2 separate regions of the Homo sapiens genome follow, and region 2 is linked to region 1. Evidence: promoter capture Hi-C in human tissues and cell types (Jung and others, 2019). All regions are on one chromosome and are shown on one strand. The core of a region is centred on a gene start or on the middle of the fragment in contact, and the rest is flanking DNA. Distances in the headings are between cores, read along the strand shown. Region 1 holds the start of CCDC136 (coiled-coil domain containing 136). Region 2 has its middle 31 kb from the start of LINC01000.

Region 1 (6,747 bases), core at 2,538-5,037:
ACATCTCAGAAAGATAAGTGACTTGCCCAAGATCACACAATTTCTAAGTGGTATAGCTGGGCCCAGGAATCTAGGTCATCCCAGATCAATGCCCACACTCTTCCCTATGTGACACGTGTCCTGCCACTTTCCTCCTCTGCAAGCCCCTTCACTGACCACCCTTCCTGTATCTACCTTTGCTTACATTTTCTGTCCCCGTCTCCTCTCCTCCCCACTTACACCTCTGCTTGCTCCTGTCCAGGCCTGCTTCCTGGCCTTCCTTTTTTTTCTCCATTTATACTTTTCTTTTGGCTTGATCTCAGTTCTCCCCAGAGTCCCTGCCGTTTTCTAGGGCAGCTCCCCTAAACCTTCCGGAGGCCCACAGAAGTAACAAAAGCTGCCTCTTTATTTGGTGGTGTGGTGGAATGTGGGGCATCTGCCTTGCTGCTTCCCAGAGACAAAGGGACGTGGGTGTTGGCAAAAAGGGATTTGGGGCCCACAAGCTCAGGTCCCAGGCAGCAACAGAAGTGCTGTCATCTGTCTCTCTTAATAGGTGCAGAGAGGCCCCACCAGTCACTTCTCATTGGCTTCATGCTTTCCCATGCCATCCTTGGAGGAACCAGAAAAAGGAATCCGGCTTGGAATTCAACTTGGATCACCCACCCCTGGCACTGACCAGGAGAACAAAGGGACAGGGATGCAGTATGAAGGAGGAGGCTGAAGGGGCAAGAGGAAAGAGCCCACCAGGGACAGGAGGTGACAGGGAGGCCAAGAAATGGAAGGGGAGGACAGAAGAGCCAGGTAGATGTGCAAAGAAAGAAAACTGGGGACAGAGGAGGATGGAGAGACAAGGAGAGGAAAAGGGTGAGACTAGTAGAGGAAAATGAGGTGAAATTACTGAATTTGGTTATTTTTATCTGCTGTGCTTCAGTCAAACCCTCAGGAAAAAAGTACTTAGGTGACCACTTGGATGGCCACCTCCCTCCAGTCCAAGTCCTGGGAATTACCTTGGAGCTGCTGGATCTGCTTGGTGAACACCTCTGCCTGCTGGGCGCTGGCTAGCCGTTCATCCTCCAGGAGCCCTGCAGGGAGAGGGGCACCAGTGTCAAGCTCGGATCCAGGGGAGTGCAGAGCCTCTGGGCCCGGGCACTGGGCCCTGGCCCAGGCACTCACCCTGTAGCTCCAAGGAGTCATCCTCATGCTGCCCTGCCAGTTCCCGGGTCTCCTCCAGTTCTGCCACCAGCTGCAGCACCTGAGCCCGCAGCTCCTCCAGCTCTGTCTCCGTGAGGCTCAGTCCCCGGTGCTTGTTGACTGACAGAGAGCCAACACTGCCACCTTTCTGCACTTGTTCTTCTTCTTCTTCCACCTCTTCTTCCTCCTCTTCCTCTTCCTCTTCCTCCTCATAGAGAGCTGGGAGTAACACCTCCCCTAGGAGACACAGCCATCCCACCAAGGAGTCAGCATCAACTTCCTTTCTGCCGTCCTTCCAGGGCCCTCAAACTCACTATGCCAGGGCAGAGATGACATACTAGTGCCACCTGGTGTCCCCCAAGGAGCCCCGGGGCAAGACCTGTACTCAAGATGAGTCCTCAGGTGTGAGAGTCAAGTTGAGAAGCAGCCCCTCCACCTCCCAGGCCCTTCCTGGACCAATGTTGCACTTGGTAGCCTCCTATCACTGCCTGTGGGCAGGCTGGTGCCCGCTCAGCCATGAGACACTTGCACAGGATTACCTGCTTCTTCTAGGCTGGCCTCTGAGTAGCAGGACAAGTAGTCAAGAAAGGAGACAGTGAGCGGATCTTTCGGTCAAATGGGGTAACAGTTACAGTTTGGAGATTTCTTGAAAGTTAAAAAACAAAACAAAACTGACCAGGCATGCTGGCTCATGCCTGTAATCCTAGCACTTTGGGAGGCTGAGGTGGGTGGATTACTTGAGGCCAGGAGTTCCAAACCAGCCCGGTCAACATGGTGAAACCCCTTCTCTACTAAAAATACAAAAAAATTAGCTGGGCGTGGTAGTACACGCCTGTAATCCCAGCTACTTGGGAGGCTAAGGCAGGAGAATCGCTTGAACCTGGGAACTGGAGGTTGCAGTGAGGCGAGATCGAGCCACTGGCACTCCAGCCTGGGCAACAGAGTGAGTCTCCGTCTCAAACAAACAAACAAACAAAAACAACCAAACAAAAACTATCCAGGTGGCTTGTGAAAAATCAGCCTTTCCATAATAAGAAAACATTGCCCGTCAGCAGGTAGAGAAAGAAAATATCTGATTGTAGAGGTTTCATTGGACAAACTCGGGCGCCCTTTCAAATGTATATTATTAAATACCTGTTTGAAATTTTCTACAAGGTCCACCTTGTTTTTCCCTGCTGCATGTCACAAGGTCTCCTCTCCCCTAGCTGAGCCATATGAGGCCCCTCCTACTCTGCTGACCACAAAGTAGATTTCAGGGGAAGTTTTAGGCTGTACTTGTGTGTAAAAGAAAGCCTACCATTTTAATGCATTAAAAAAACTGGGGTTTGGTGCTGGCCCCCAGCCTCTGGTTGTGAGCACCCGCTCCTTTACTGCAACGCAGTCCCTATAAATAGCAAAATGTTGTCTGGATGGTGATTGTTTGCTTTGTTTTAAAATTCTGAATCTCTGGTCTTACTTTATCTAATATCAGCAGCCTTAGGTTCAACTGGGACCCTTCGTGCCATCTGTCCCCCTTAGGGGGAGCAGGTTTGCCCATACTGAATGTGCAACGTGCAACACTTCACAGGAAGTACTGGCAAATGGACCAGCGTCCTTCCAGGGGCCTGGTGTTGGCAGCAACTGCCAAGTCACATGGGTGTGGTGGGGATACACGTGTGTTGGGAGGATGGCCTCACGCGCCCCCTCCTAGGCTCTCTCTTTCAGGCAATAAGGTATCCTAAAGAACCAAAGCCACAGGCTTCCATTCGAAGTTAATGTTGGTGGCCCCAGAAAGACAATTCACATGCCCAGTTCCTTGCTTTTTAAAATAAGAGACAGCTTGGGATCTGGGTCGGCAGGCAGTGAGGACAAACCCCCTGCTGAAAGGCTGCTTCAAAGCTCTGTCCAACAAGGCCTCTTTCTCTGTCTGGCAGCTCCCTCGGGACACATAACCTGGTTAGCTGGGGGGTGATTGGGGTCCCGAAGGGATGCATCCTGAACTTCTGTCAAAGCCTGAGCCCTGGGAAGGGCTGGAGCTCTGAGCTGCAGGAAGAGGGGCTAAGATGAACTGAGGGAAGGGCTGTGTCCTGGCTCAGAGGCCTGGGGGTCAGAGGGAGGAAAGAAGGGAATTAAGGGAGGAGGGGAGGGGAAAGAAAGAAGCCTTTTGGGAAAACTCACCCTCCATAGCTTGCATCCCCCGTCGTTCCAGGGACCCCCAGCGTTGGCCCTTCTTCCTCTCACAGCCCTCGGAAGCCTCATAGGAGCCTAGAGTGGTCACTGTGGGTCCTGAGAGCAGGGAGAAAGGAGGGGCTGGGGGGTGGGGGGCTGGCTGCGGGCTGGGGTGCAGAGGAAAGAAGGGGACATGTCTTCCAGCTCCTCGAGGCTCTGGGATCTGTAATCCCAGTGGAGGTGCCTGACTCACTCTGGCGGCTCTGCGACTCCTCTCTCTCGGCCACCTCTCAGCCCTGCCTCCCAGCCTCCTCAGAACCCGCTGTTCCAGGACCCTCTTGCTTGCACAGAAAGAAAGAGGGGGTGTGCGTATTTAGTCCGGGGGGACAGGGAGGAGAGGGCCAAGACTGAAAGAGGGCGGGAGCCAGTGAAGAAGAGGCTGAAAGGCTGAGGTGGCCTACAGATGGAGGGAGGGAGGAGTGGGGGGCGTGCGGGAAGGGGTAGGGCTGCGACCGCTCCCCTCCCCTCTCCTCCCATTCTCTCGCTGGACCTTGCCCACCCCACCCTCGCCCCGCGCTCAGGAGTCTCCGGGGCTGCAGGAGGTGTAGGGTCTGCAGTCCCGAAGGCTGGAAGCACCGTCGGACTGAAGTGGAGAGACGCGCTGGGGAGGGACCACCAGGCAGGATGCGGCCGGTGCGCGGAAGCCTCAGTCCCAGGCCGGAAGGATGGAGACCGGGCCCCGGTGGAGGCCAGGATGGAGGGAGGAAGACTTTGGGCGGAGAAAGGGGAGCCGCGGAGGCCGGGAGCACCTGGGGGTCTGGAAGGAGGAGGGATGGAGGAGAGAAAGGAGGGGCGGTAGACAGGTGACGGAGGGGCGGCTCTGACCTGGGCCCGGGCAGCTCCAGCCCGCGGCTCCCGCGCCGGCTCCGGCGCCCGCCTCCATGACCGCTCCCGCCGCCGCCTTCCGCCTCCCTGAGCAGAAGCCGCAGCCGCGAGCCCGGGGACCCGAGCCGGGTGCGCAGGGAGGGAGGGAGGGCGGACGAGGGGGCGGGGCCTGGCCGGGCCTCCTGACACCGCCCCCCGCCGCTCGCCGCCGCCCGGAAGCCCTCCCAGCACTCGGGAGCTCCGAGCCCGTGCAGGGGGCGGCGCGGGAGGGTGAGCGCGACCCCGGATACGCCCCAAGGCTCTCCCCTAGAGAGCGCGGGGAGCCGCGGGGCCCGGACAGCGTCAGGAGCTCCTAGGCTTATGGCTGCCCCAAGAGGGAGGAGCGAGATCCCCTGGTTCTGGCGGCGGGTCCCCCCGGGGTCTGCTGTGCCCAGGGACCCTTCTGCACCAGGTGTCAGGGCCCGGTCATGCTCAGCAATGGGGACGGCAAAGGACGAGGTGGGACTGTTTCCTCCAAAAGCGCAGACACGCGCGCCCCTCCTTCCCTCCCTCCCCCGCCCGGCCGGCGCCCCCACCTAGCAGTCCGCGCTGACTCCGGCCCCAGGCCCTGCCCACCCCTGCCCGGTGGCCCCTCGGCAGCCTGGGGGCCGGAGGAGGGAAGTCGAGGCCCGGATGGGCGAACGGCAGGGCCCTGACCTCTCCGCTTTCCGCGACCCCCCACCGAGCCAGGGCCAAGGACCCTCTTAGGAGGAGCCCTCCGGTGGCCCCATCAAGCCTCAGGGCCGGAAGACCCCCTCTCCTCCGCCCTGTCTTCCCTTCCGGTCCCACACCCGGTGGGCTGCGAGCCACGCCCCCACAGTAGCCCGCTCAGAGTGGGCACGACTGATGTTCACTCTCGTGGAAGGGAGATTTGGAAGCCCAGGGGGCTTATTTCACGTCTTCAACCATTCGTTTATTCAGGCTATGACTACTGGGTGCCGGCTCTTGAAGAGGCAGTTCTCACATCTCGGCAGGTCTCGGCAAGGATAGAAGTGGGCACAGTTGGGAACAGGGGCTCCCCAGCACATCCAGGAAATGGCTGGAAGATTCCTAAGCCAGGGACACACGCGGATCCCCTCTCTGGCACATCCACTCACAGGTCGAGGGCTAGTATTGTCTGCGTTCCCCCCGCTGCAGGAAAGGGATCCGGATCCAGACCGCAACAGAGGGTTCTTGAATCTCACGCAAGAAAGAATTCAGGGAGGTCCATAGGATAAACTAAAAGCAAGTTTATTAGGAAAGTAAAGGAATAAAGAATGGCTACTCCATAGACAGAGCAGCCCCAAGGGCTGCTTTTTTTGGTTATTTCTTGATGATATGCTAAACAAGGGGTGGTTTATTCCTGACACCCCCTTTCAGACAATGTAGGGTAACTTTCTGATGTTGCCATGGCATTTGTAAACTGTCATGGCACTGGTGGGAGTGTAACAGTGTGAGGATTACTAGAGGTCACTCTCACTGCCATCTTGGTTTTAGTGGGTTTTGGCCGGCTTCTTTACTGCAAGGTGTTTTATCAGCAAGGTCTTTATGACCTGTGTCTTGTGCCAACCTCCTATCTCATCCTGTGACTTAGAATTCCTTAAACGTCTGGGAATGCAGCCCAGTAGGTCTCAGCCTCATTTTACCCAGCTTCTATTCAAGATGGAGTTGCTCTGGCTCAAATGTCTCTGACATCCCACAGGCTCCCACGTCCACAAGCCATCCCTGTTCCACGGGAAGGAAGCCCTTCTTTGCCTGGACTTCCCCCTCCTTTTCAGCTGGGGGTCACCTCCAGGTGGCCTTCTCTGACTGGCACCCCATCCCTGCCCCACTAGGCGCTTTTGTGGTGCTCGCCCCTATTTGTCTGTAACAGCACCAGGCCCTCCGGGTTGTCCGGGCTCTGCCCAGTTTCCTGAAGGTTAGGGGGATCTTAGTTATCTTTGTATTTCCAGCATCTGACAGAGTTTCTGACACAGGATAAATGAGTTAAAGGTCAATCTCCCAGCTACCCAGTTAATGCCCTGTCTTATCATTTAACATGATTTCATATTTGTGGTGTTAAATGTTGCCTATTAATGATGATGTTGCCCATAAGTCTCTCTCCCTCCCCCAACTCCTTGCTCCTTTTTTCTTCCTCTGCCTCTCTCATTATCTCAGCAGAGAGATGATGAGCAGAGATCAAGAATGTTTTCTTTGCTCCCAGATGACAAGATTCTACTCCAGATCCTGTGGCCAAGGTGACACAGTTGTGGGGAAAGTTGAACAAGCCCACCCAGACCCCTTCTGCAGAGGGTTTACTGCAGACGCCAAGCCTGTCCAGATTTGGGGAGCAGAGCATTTGTCAGGGGTGGTAGAAAGGGGCTGCACTGGGGGCTTGAGGGATGCAGTGCTCTGGGAACTGGCAAAGACTAGTTCTGGAAGCTTACTGGCTGTTCTTTCTGCCCAGCGCAGCTCCTCCTGGTTCTGCCTCCGCCAGCAGGGCCACGTTAGCGGTTGGCCTTGACTGCTGACCTCTTGGTGAATGTA
Region 2 (6,747 bases), core at 4,248-6,747, 180 kb after region 1:
TAGTAGCCCCCAATGCAGCCATACCCAACATCTTACTAAAATGGCAAAATTCAATGAATGATGTCTGAAAGAATATACAAGACATGCAGTCTTTCCCTCACTATTGATCCTCTAGATCTTCTAGAAGCACAAGTTCTAATCAACCTAAAAACAAGGCAGCTGCCCTCGGTGTCTTCCTTTTTTATTTATCTACTCCTTTAGTACTGCTCTACATACAAATAAAGACTGCAACAGTCTGAAGACGACAGAGTAGAAGGGGCAGTGGTGAGTGAAGGAAACATATTGCTTCTTAGAAAACATAAGCAAACATTTTTTTAAAACTCCTAAAGCAGTACCAGGTTAGGATTCAAGTTTTTCTCATACTCTGTCATCTCAATCTTAAAGAGTCAGATGATGGAGAAAGGCACGCCCACAATTATTTCTCAGTACAGCAGAGCTTCTCTGTACAAAACCCTGACAGATACTGGAATTTGGCAAGGAGCTTTTTACACCCACAAACCATTTCATTATAAATCTTTGATGGCAATTCAACCAGCACCCAAATGAATAAAAACAGGAATAAGAGCAACTCCATGCAAGTATACATATCCGAACAATGAAAAATACAACACAGTGCTGAGACTACATATGGGTCTCCTCATTCAAAGATGGAGAAAAGGAAATAAAAATAACAATAGTAAATAAAAACAACAACAACAAAAATAGGCCCAAGGAATACAGAAAATCAGCTTGAAAACAATGAAAATTATCACCCACAGAAATCAAAAGAACATTTTAGAATACTTCTTGTCATATTTCATAAAATGCAAAAAGACATGATATCTAGGAAATAGGAACCAAAAACCCTAGAGAATATACAGGATGGGGTAAGAAAGTATATTAGATGAGGGAAAAAAGCAGGGAAATTTAAAATGTAAATAATAGGCCTGTCACGGTGACTCACGTCTGTTATCCCAGTACTTTGGGAGGCCAAGGTAGGAGGATTGCTTGAACCCAAGAGTTCAAGACCAGCCTGGGCAACATAGTGAGACCCTGTTCCTACAAAAAATAAAAAAATTAGCCAAGCACAGTGGCACATGCCTGTAGTCCCAGCTATTCAGGAGGCTGAAGTGAGAGGACTACTTGAGCCTGGGAGATGAAGGCTGCAGTGAGCCATGACGGTGCCACTGCACCCAGCCTGGGCGACAGCAAGACACTGTCTCAAAAAATAAAAATGTAAACAATAAAATCAAAATTCACATGAGCTGCAGTAAATGCCAGAAATATATGGAAGACAGTGTTTAATGAGACTCAGAAGAAAGGGGCAATCATATTAAAATGAGACATAACATGTTAGAAATAAAGGAGAGAAATCAGAGATTCAAGCTAAGAGTCAAGAAGAAACCAATATAAACAGGGATAAAAGCATAGTTAGACATAATCACACATTTTCCAAATAAAAATATATAAACCCACATATAGATACACCCTGGGGTAATATTTAACAAATTATGGTGTTTGCTGCTTTGGTCATGAACCTCTCTGAAATACAAAATGCTTGAAAAACTGAAGGAGAAACAGAGAGAGAGAATGTGTGTTATATTTGAGAAGCAGAACAAACAGAACAAGGGGTTATGACACAAAAATCCTGCACACAGTGTTGTCTTTCCATGGGAGGGCAAAAGAGAGAATTCTCAGGTCTGCAAGGCAGAGAAAATTTAACACTGACAAATCCTTGCTGAAAAATAATCACTTAAAAATGTACCACCATCAACAGATAAAACAAGAACTATAAATAAAAAAAAATACTGTTGATAAGCCTTGAAATCAGTTGAATAAACCAGTCTAACAATGACTATGAATTTGGTCATAAAGCTGCCTCTGCCTATACTCTATACATAAGAACTTAGTGTCATATATAGCAGTAAAAATGGTAATTTAATAATAATAATATAGGCCGAGCGCAGTGACTCACGCCTGCAATCCCAGCACTTTGGCAGACCAAGGCAGGCTGATCACTGCAGGTCAGGAGTTCGAGACCAGCGTGGCCAATGTGGCAAAAACCCATCTCTATTAAAAATACAAAAATTAGCCAGGCATTGTGGTGCATGCCTGTAATCCCAGCTACTTGGGAGGCAGAGGCAGGAGAATCACTTGAACCTGGGTGACAAAGTGAGACTCTGTCTCAAAAAATTAATTGATTAATAATATAAACAGCCAAATGTAGTGGCACATGCCTATAGTCCCAGCTACTTGGGAGGCCGAGGTGGGAGGATCACATCGGGTGGGGACTGGGGAGGGCACAGCTTGCAAGACTGCGCCACCGCACTCCAGCCTGGGTGACAGAGTGAGATCCTGTCTCAAAATAAATATATAAAATTAATAATAATAGCTGGACGCGGTGGCTCACGCCTGTAATCCCAGCACTTTGGGAGGCCGAGGTGGGTGGATCACAAGGTCAGGGGTTCGAGACCAGCCTGACCAACATGGTGAAACACCATCTCTACTAAAAATGCAAAAATTAGCTGGGCATGGTGGCGGGCACCTGTAATCCCAGCTACTCAGGAGGCTGAGGTAGGAGAATTGCTTGACCCTGGGAGGCGGAGGTTGCAGTGAGCTGAGATCACGCCACTGCACTTCAGTCTGGGCAACAGAGCAAGACTCTGTCTCAAAAAAAAAAAAATTAATAATAATATAAACACACCAGACTTTACTAATAAAGGCCAGACTTAGTTTAGCTATGTGCTGAATTCCAGGTTTTATATAAAAAGGAGTCAAAATACACTATTTTACCTTATGTTTTTATTAAGTACAGAAATATAATACAAGTAAAAAAATTTTGGAGGTCAGATCATCATGAGTACAGTGACTTTTATAATCTGTATTATTAAACATATATTCAAACAAAATTGTACCCAAAGCCTAATAAGAAAGACTGACAAAGGCAAGGTTGCCGATCCCCATCTTGCTGTGTCACAGTAGCCCTGGAGGTTTCAGGACCCTGAAGAGTCAGATTAACTACCACATTAGCAGAAATAAGGATCAAACCTATACCTTCTAAATCACTAGAGAAGAGAAAAATGCTAGCCAATGTTATTCGTAAATCAGTAACATTTATGTATATATTCATTTGTGTGTGTGTGTGTATATATATATATACACACACATATCTACTTCAAACAGCTCAAAATTACTGAAAAAAAAAATGTACCAAATGTTTAATCCCAATTAATGGAATTATGAGTGACATATTTTTCTGTATTTTGTAAAGAGCATGTATAATGGTTTTTTTTTTTTGAGACAGGGTCTTGCTCTGTTGTCCAGGCTGGAGCGCAGCAGCGTGAACTTGGCTCACTGTAGCCTAGAGGTCCTGGGCTCAAGCATCTTCCCACCTCAGGCTCCCAGTAGCTGGGACCACAGACACACCACCATGCCTGGCAAATTTTGTATTCTTTTATAGAAATGGGGTCTTGCTGTGTCATGCATGCTGGTCTCAAACTCCTGATCTCAAGCAATCCTCCTGCCTCAGCCTCCCAAAGTGGCAGGTATGGGCCACCATGCCCGGTCCTTTTTACTTTCTTATTTTTTTCTTGACACGAAGTATCACTCTGTCGCCCAGGCTGGAATGCAGTGGCGCAATCTCGGCTCACTGCAACCTCCGCCTCCCAGGCTCAAGCAATTCCCCTGTCTCAGCCTCCCAAGTAGCTGGGACTACAGCCGCTTGCCACCACACCAGGATAATGTTTTATATTTTTTTAGTAGAGACAGGGTTTCTTTTCAACATGTTGGCCAGGGTGGTCTCAAACTCCTGACCTCAAGTGATCCACCTGCGTTGGCCTCCCAAAGTGCTGGGATTACAGGTGTGAACCACCATGTCCGGCCCTTTTTACTCTTTAAAAACTATGAGTCAGTCATGCCAAATTGCATGTTCAAAATATATTGATAAAGTATTTTCTAGTGATATCTATTTAATTCCAGATGAAGCATTTTAAAGGTTTCTTTTGTAAGCACAAAAAAGTTTGGGTGAGTAGGTTATAAAAGGTACAAAAAGCAAAATGGGCTAAAAAGTCCTTTGAAATAGCTTATAAAATTCAACAATATTAAAATAATTTCTCTGGAATGGGAAAACAACACTTTATACTTATTCCCACAGTTCTAGATGAAATATAACACTCCACATATCTATTTCTCCAATATAAATTCAATCATTAAAATACTACAGTATAAGATTTCCAATTTAAAGGTAGTGTTTAGAATGCAGGAACCTGGTTCCTACTCAGATTCCCTCAATTAAAGAAAAATACCCAAATGTTTATTATTTCATTGTTATTTGGCTATAGTAATTACTTCTATGATATGTACATAATCCAAATATATATAACAAATGGTGCTTGCTATAAAATATCTTACCAAATTTTAATACTTACTCTTAATAAATCATCTATTCTTCCCTCCCTCTTCTCTAGGTCAGAATTCTTACTGTTTTCTAGTGCAGATATTTTTTCTATTGTGAGGTTGGACTACAGAGACAAAGGTAAAACAAATTTAGGATTAGTCTCAACATGTTATATGTCATCACACTCTTCTCGTTACCTTTCTTGGGGGGAAAAAAAAGCACTTGCTCACACAAATGGCCTAGAATCACATGGCTTAAGAAATGAAATCTGCTTGTCTCATCTCATTGTTCAAGTCCTCTGCTGGGTTCCTTACGTCCCACTACACCTACACTTCAAATACATGTTAATTCTGGAATCAAATGTATGAATTCTCACTACTGTGCACTGAACAATGTAGAAACACGTTACTCCAGAAATGAAACTAACTTTGAATAGAAAACGATCTCACAGGAGACTTGACACAACTCTCTAAGGAACAAATGCGCCATCTGGTGGAAACAGAGAGCAATCAGAAGGGAAGAGAAGAAGCTACCTGAGTGCTCAACTATCTAACTGAACTGTACAAGAGCTGGTGATTTAGATAAAATTCAAATGTGCTCCAGGGAGTTGTATACCTCTTGAGATTTAAGAAATTCTCCTAGATTGCCAACGATCCTGTCTTGAAGATAATATATACAGTATCAAAAGAGGCTTCAAGAAAACCCAGTATACTCAAAACTACAAAATGGAAGCTATAGCCACCATCCTTTGCAGATACAATCCTCAAATGTTCAGAACACTCCCTAAATTAAAGAGTTTCTGAACACAATTTAAGGAGTAAACCATGTTGGTATCTCACATCTGAGAGAAGTTTAGCCAGGTATAAATAAGTAAGCAGGAAAAGGAATACATTAACTACTTTCATAAATTAGGGAATTAACATTTATTGAAAGCCTACTACAAGTACACTACTAATAAACATTTCGTATACACTGTCTGAGATCATGAGAATCAACCACATTTTCACAGATGATTTGTACTAAGAAAAACTGAGGCCCAGGCCAGAATCTGAACTTAGGCCACAGTGCCAGAATCTGAACTTAGAGGCCTTCAAAGTGTAGGTACTTTTCTTCTGTGGAATACTGTAGGAAAAAAAAAAAAAAGTGTGCACTTTCCTTAACACCATGCTTTAGCATAAGCATTTCTGCTACAATACACCAGAAGAGTAAAGAAAAGCCTCAAAAAGTTAAAGCACCTTCCAAAGGACTTTAAATACCCATAATGCAAGTTCTGAATATAATACACACAAATAATGAGGTGGTCAGAGAAGTCAGAGAAGAATGACAGACTACACAGGTTAGCCCTTATTCCTACACAGCAGGTATCCCCCTCAATTGATTATCGATCACCAACCTACCTGGGTCTGTCTGTGCTGGATGGAGATCTGTTTTTGGGAGCTGCAGGAATGCTCTGTGTTGCCAGATCCCGTAGATGAGGGACTGTTTTGCTGAGCCTACAATAAAGGTGCATTACCAATCACAGGAAAGTTTGGCATCTTTTTCCACAAACACTTGTATTAATGCAAACAACTCCATAATTTGTATCTCCACAATACAAACCCCTTCTTATGAAAGTGAGAAGTCAGGGCCACGTGGCCAAGAAGAAAGTAAAACAATTCAAATATGAGACAAAGGGCTAGACATGGTGGTTTATACCAAGTTCCTGTAAACAGGTTTAAAGTATCAAATGCTTACAAATGAATTTTTAAAATATGAAAATTAGAGAAAATGAAAAGTTATTCCTGTAATAACTTGCCTTTTTCACTTGTATTTTCATATGCTTTAGTCAGAAAAGGCTAGTGAAGCATCCAATGCACAAGGGGATGCACGTAAAGGACTGTGAAACACTATTCAGAATAGTCTCCTAAACACACAAACATTATCCATGAACACACAGCGGTCTAAAATCCAGGTTGATTTCTAATACTGTCACTTGCTGACTGGGCATTCTAAGGCATTTTAAATTTATATGGTTTAGGTTCCATAATATAATTAACCTATTCAGGTTATTAACCTATTCAGGTTAATTATATTATATTCTCAATAGTACTTTTTTTTTTTTTTTGAGACAGAGTCTCGCTCTGTCACCCAGGCTGGAGTGCAGTGGCGCGATCTGGGCTCACTGCAAGCTCTGCCTCCCGGGTTTATGCCATTCTCCTGCCTCAGCCTCCCAAGTAGCTGGGATTACAGGCACCCGCCACCATGCCTGGCTAATTTTTTGTATGTTTAGTGGAGACGGGGTTTCACTGTGTTAGCCAGGATGGTCTTGATCTCCTGACCTCATGATCCGCCCGCCTCGGCCTCCCAAAGTGCTGGGATTACAGGCGTGAGCC

The links. Contacts are between HindIII fragments. The study calls those that stand out against the background at their distance.
Region 2: a fragment that was not itself captured here is called in contact with the fragment with the promoter of CCDC136 in region 1 in 2 of the 25 tissues and cell types used here (bladder and spleen).

The regions. Positions count from the first base shown.
Region 1 is chr7:128,789,008-128,795,754 of GRCh38, reverse strand. It overlaps CCDC136 (coiled-coil domain containing 136), which reads right to left and starts at 3,787. Exons shown (of 18, transcript NM_022742.5): 1 at 3,328-3,787; 2 at 1,153-1,407; 3 at 987-1,061. The coding sequence starts at 3,343. RefSeq lists silencers at 4,404-4,672, 4,211-4,680. The HindIII fragment of the contact is 16,505 bases long and covers 1-6,747 here.
Region 2 is chr7:128,607,239-128,613,985 of GRCh38, reverse strand. No RefSeq gene overlaps it. Among named protein-coding and RNA genes, the nearest start is that of LINC01000, 31 kb to the left of the region's middle. The HindIII fragment of the contact is 7,339 bases long and covers 1,828-6,747 here.